Linked DNA regions of Homo sapiens: region 1 is linked to region 2. Evidence: promoter capture Hi-C in 16 types of primary human blood cells and fetal thymus (Javierre and others, 2016). All regions are on one chromosome and are shown on one strand. Each heading gives the region's core, a stretch centred on a gene start or on the middle of the fragment in contact. The rest is flanking DNA. Distances are from core to core; before and after follow the strand shown. Region 1 overlaps ZNF529 (zinc finger protein 529). Region 2 holds the start of ZNF256 (zinc finger protein 256).

Region 1 (2,749 bases), core at 117-2,616, about 21 Mb before region 2:
TTGTGTGTGTGTGTGTGTATATATATATATATATATAGTGTGTTATGTAGTGCATGTGTGGGCATATATAGTATACATCACACACATATACATCACACACTATATACACACATATAGTATATGTGATATGTATAGTATACATCACACATACACTATATACACTATATGTGTATATACACTATATGTATATAGTGTGTGTGTGTGTGTGTGTGTGTTATGGTGGAATATAACCAGTTCCTATGTATGTGTTTTTTTGGGGGGAATATGTTGTATCAAAATAAAGTAGAAATTTAAAGAGAAGTCAACAATTGGATGAAAATGGAAAGGAGATCACACTTCTATCATTTAAAACAAAACAAAACAACATTACACAAAATGATGAGCTGTAAGACTGTAAAAATACATTGTATCTGACTAGGAGTGCTAACTCTGTGGAGGAAAATAAGTAAGTATAGATATCACAAGCAAAGAATTACAATGCAGAAAAGATATTGAAGTAATATTACAATTAAAAAACTGAATAGTCAAAAGAGCAATAATACAAACATCAAAAGCTATTGTAAACAAAACATGCCAGGATGAGAAACTCATGAAAAAAACTTTTTAACATAAAAAGGAGAAATATTTGGCAACATCTAACAAAGCTATAAGTATATATCAGCTATGACTAAGCAATTCTACGTCTACATACAGAATGACCATGAAGTCTAAAAACAGACTTTAAGAGAGGGAGATACTGAATTGCCTTGATTACCTATTAAATCCATCCACAGTATTTTCCTGTGAAAATCAGAAATAAAAAACCACTTTATACATTTATTTCAGTCAAATGATTTCTCACCAGTGTAAATTTTCGGTTGGCAAGTAAGATGCCCAACAACACTAAAGGAATTCCCACACTCCTTACATTCATAGGGTTTATCATCAGTATGAATGCGCTGATGTTTGGTAAAGGATGAACTATGTCTAAAGGCCTTCCCACATGCCTTGCATTCATAGGGTTTTTCTCCAGTATGAATTCTCTGATGTTCTGTAAGGGCTGAACTATGTCTAAAGGCCTTCCCACATACCTTACATTCATAAGGTTTCTCACCACTATGAATTCTTTGATGTTGAATAAGGGCTGACGTAAGTCTAAAGAACTTTCCACACTCCTTACATTCATAAGGTTTTTGACCACTGTGAATTCTTTCATGTCGAGTAAGTTCACTACCTACTCCAAATGCTTTCTCACATTCTTTACATTTATAGGGTTTTTCACCAGTATGAATCCTCTGATGTCTAGTCAGGGATGAACTATTTCTAAAGACCTTTCCACATGCTTTGCATTCATAGGGTTTCTTACCAGTATGAATTCTCTGATGACGAGCAAGTTCTCTACATACTCCAAAAGCCTTCCCACATTCCTTACATGCATAAGGTTTCTCACCAGTGTGAATTCTCTGATGTTCAATGAGCTGTGAACTAATTCTAAAAACCTTCTCACAGTGCATACATTTGTAGGGTTTCTCACCAGTATGAATTCTCTGATGTTCGGTAAGCTGTGAATGAAATCTGAAGTCCTTGCCACATTCCATACATTTGTAAGTTTTCTCATCAGTATGGATTTTCTGATGTCGAGTAAGTTGTGCATGCACTCTAAAGGATTTCCCACAGAATGAGCATTCAAAGTGTTTCTCACCATCATGAACTCTTTGAAGTGGAGTAACTTTTCCAACTCTTTCAAAGGTCCTTCTGTATTCCTTACATTTATAGAACTTCTCATTATGAATTTTCTGGTATACATTAAAGTCTTTATAAAAACTACATGTATTCCCATATTCCATATATTTACAAGGTTTCACACCAGTATGAATATTCAGTTGTAACATACTGGAGTTATCTATCCCAAAGGTTTTCCAACATTGATTACATTCATAGTTTTTTCCACCAGTATGTATTTTCTGATATTCATCAAACTCTAAGTCACAACTGAAGACCTTCTCATATTCCTTGTATTCATAGGGCTTCTCACTGTCATGAGTTCTCCGAGGTAAAGTAAGAGATTCATGAGTTTTGTAACTGGGCACATTTTCAGAGATGATTTTCATTTGACTGAAATATCCCACTTCAGGTCCTTGTAAGTCAATCTTGCTTTTGCTTTGCCAGTCATTTCTGAAAATGGAACCTTCAAGGCCACATAACTTGCTACTTTCCATTACCTCCCACTGAGAACCAGTGTTTTGAATAATATCTTTTCCTACAGATAAATGCTTAGTCTCATTCCTGGACTCCAAATCTGAAAGAAAGGAAAAAATAATTTTCATGTACTACAAAAATAAAACAGTTATAGAAAGAAGAGACAATTTAAGAATAATTCACCATATACATGAATTGGTTAAAATACTGTCATGAAAGATAAAGAGAGCTCACAGAGTAACAGCAGAACATAAAGATTATGAGGATTGTGATAAAGGTAACAGATTAAGTCAGTGGATCTGAAATTTGTGTGTTGGTCATCACCTGGTAAGCTCATTGGTTAAACAGAATCAAAATCTGTAGATGTAGAACTAGTCATTAGCATCTTGTAGAGGTAATGCTAACGCAGATCAAAATTTGATAATCCATATATACTAACACTTTTGTGGTTTTCCTCCCCAAAAATAAATTTTACCGAGGATAATAACAAGGTGCAGTTTGTTAAGACCTCATTTTGCCTGGGCGTGTTGGCTCATGCCTGTAATCCTAGCACTCTGGGAGGGCAAGGTGG
Region 2 (2,996 bases), core at 483-2,982:
TCCTGGATACCCATAAAGTGGTGAATAAGCACGAGTTTTGGCCTGAGTGTCCTATGCGTTTGCATCCATCTCATGTCCATTCTTCTCTTGGGAGCCGTGGCCACTGCCAAACTACACTGTCTTTTACATACCTTGCCTTCATGACCACTTACTCTATCATCATCCTCCCAGTCTTGGCCCACTAACAGCTTTACAACCAAAACCTGGAGCTTGCCCCGCCTAACTGTGACCCACAGCTCACTAACCTTGGTGCGCACAACAGCCACATCTTGAATATCTGCACCCTGAACCACTCCCTAGATTTCAAGACCGGCACGTTCATCTGCCCACTTAACGCCTCCATTTAGTAGGCTCTGAAAGATCTGACTCTTAGCATGGCATAAACAAACCTGATATCCCTAGTGAATATTACTCCTATTGCCAATTTGTTCATCTTAGTTGATGAAACTTCTTTCCCTACAGCTGCTAATACCAAAAACCCTGGAGTCTTCTCTGAACCCTCTGTTTCACTCCCTCACCACCTACATTATGTAATTTAGTTGTCCCTTTTGAAACCACACATCCGGAATCTAACCACATCTCCTAAATCACGATCCTGGGCCAGTAACCCTCACTTGGACTAGTCTACCCTGATTTTCCTTCCTCCTCCCTCAACCCCCCAGTTTGTGCCCCACTGTGCACACAGATGAAGCCTGTGAAGACCTTGGTAAATTACCTCTTTTTTCTGATTCAAACTTGCTATTACCTCCTGAAAACACACTCAACTTCTCAGGCAGCCACTGCAGTCCTGACGCCTATCCTCCTGTTCTTTGCTTCCCACCAGAAAGCAAGGAGACTTGTGGCTTCATAAATGCACCCAGCTCCGTACTGCACCTAAGCATTTGCACATCTTGTACCTTTCTGGAAAAACTTTCCACACCCGTTCACATGGCTGCCAGAAATTGGAACAACTCTATATACCGGCTAACATGGACATAGGACCCTGGGCTTGGGGTTCACCCAAGGTCTTCAGAACTAAGGGCTGGGGGAATGGCACTCCACAACCCAGAGAACCTGTGGGTGGGAGTTAGGGCTAGTGAGAGACTGGGAAACCCTCCCCTTCCTGGCGTAGATTTCATAACCCTTTACAGCCAAGGGAAACGTAGAAAGAGCCAGGCCTCAGAGAAGAGCATCTATGGCGGTATTAGATGGGCTCAAGCCACCCCGTAGCCCCATGCCTGGCCTTGGAGCCGGGTGCCCTCGCAATGGCTGTGTCACCTCTGTGCCCCAGGGCTCAGTGGCGCCTCTCATCAGGGGCTCCTTGCCAGTCGCGCCCTCCCTTCCCTAGCACACCAGGTGTTGGAAACGGGAGCCCCTCCGGCGAGCCCCCGTGTCCTGTCCTGGGCAGCAGGGCCGCGAGCAAGCGCCCTCGGGGGTGCTAGGACTAGCGTGGGGAGGGCGGGGAAGGCCCAGAGGACGCGGCACATACCTGGGCCGGGGCCGTCAGCTCGGCCGCCGCCATCTGACTCTGTGAGCGGAGCGGGGCCAGAGAGGATGTCCTTATTCCGGGCCGGGCCTGGGTACCCTGGGCGCCGCCGAGCCTCAGCCACGCCTCTGTGCAGCGGGGAAGACTCCTCTCGCGCCTTCTCAGTCAGTCACGGATGATGCTGACCCAGCGCTCCGGGGCTTTCTACCAAGTAATCAGTCCAGACAAATGCCAAAACGACCGCCACAAGGAGGACAACGGAAGTCCCGCCGCGACCGCGCGTGCGCTTACGGAAACACCACCTTTCGGAGGCCTCATTGGCTGAAGGTCGCCGTCGCCCAACGCAGGCCATTCTGGGTAATGTTCCCACAGGCGCACGGCGGGAGAGTGAGGGTCGCCTCCACCTCCTTCCGGAAGTAAAGGCCAAACCCCTGTAGGGGGCGCTGGGAAATGGACACTCCAGGTTGGGGCGGAGGCGAGGCTTCGTTCTTTCTTAAAGGAGACGTACCCAGGTTTCTACCGATTGCTGTCTGCCAGTGTTTGTTTGGAGACGTGTCATTTCATGTGTTCCCAGAGGCACATATCCAGATGCACATATTATTACATACAGTCAGTCAGTCACAAAATATATCCACTGGTTGAGAAAGCAAATAAATATGACTATGTTGCGGCCGGGCGCGGTGGCTCACGCCTGTAATTCCAGCACTTTGGGAGGTCGAGGCGGGCGGATCACGAGGTCAGGAGATCGAGACCATCCTGGCTAACTCAGCGAAACCCCGTCTCTAAAATACAAAAAATACCACAAAAAAAAAAAAAAAAAGAAAAATTAGCTGGGTGTGGTGGCGGGCGCCTGTAGTCCCCAGCTACTCCGGAGGCTGAGGCAGGAAAATAGCTTGAACCCGGGAGGCAGAGCTTGCAGTGAGCCGAGATCGCGCCACTGCACTCCAGCCTGGGGGAAAGAGCGAGCCACTGTCTCAAAAAAAAAAAAAAAAAAAAAAAAAAAAAAAGACTATGTTGCAATTCAAACGCATGCACTCAAGCACTGGAGTCAGTTTTCTCAGTCTCTGTATGTTTGATTAGGGACAAGAAAAAAAACACTCCACACAGGTTCATGACAAAGAGGATGAAGGTGGGATGCGGAGGCACCCTGCAGCAGCAGGACATAAGTAGATCCCTGTCTCTGGGTCCCTCTCGTGCCTGTGTAGTCAAACATTGTGTCCAATTCACTAAGCAACACTTGCATGAATCTAATCTCACTTTCTCCATGCCTTTATATTCACTTCTTTTTAATAATTTGACATCAAGCTCAGAAAGAGAACAACAAAAGGAATGGTATTTTGAAAAGGCATGATGGCTAGCTAGAGCATTAACAGGTGGAACAAAGGGTGCTCTGAATCCCAAATGTAGGGTGTATCTTAAATTCAAGATCTCTTCTCAACGCTGAAATGATTATCTTTGCCCCCATTAGTTACGCTCTTGTTGCCCAGGCTGGAGTGCAATGGTGCGATCTCGGCTCACCACAACCTCTGTC

Evidence for each region. Contacts are between HindIII fragments. The CHiCAGO score rates a contact against its expected background, and 5 or more counts as called.
Region 1: a contact is called between a fragment that was not itself captured here and the fragment with the promoter of ZNF256 in region 2, in 1 of 17 cell types (non-activated CD4 T cells). The highest score is 7.3, in non-activated CD4 T cells.

What each region holds. Positions count from the first base shown.
Region 1 is chr19:36,546,045-36,548,793 of GRCh38, forward strand. It overlaps ZNF529 (zinc finger protein 529), which reads right to left. Exons shown (of 5, transcript NM_020951.5): 5 at 1-2,278. The coding sequence ends at 822. Among named protein-coding and RNA genes, the nearest start is that of ZNF260, 19 kb to the left of the region's middle. The HindIII fragment of the contact is 7,809 bases long and covers 1-2,749 here.
Region 2 is chr19:57,945,974-57,948,969 of GRCh38, forward strand. It overlaps ZNF256 (zinc finger protein 256), which reads right to left and starts at 1,733. Exons shown (of 3, transcript NM_005773.3): 1 at 1,469-1,733. The coding sequence starts at 1,501. RefSeq lists enhancers at 1,142-1,221, 1,712-1,811, 1,882-1,971. The HindIII fragment of the contact is 12,388 bases long and covers 1-2,996 here.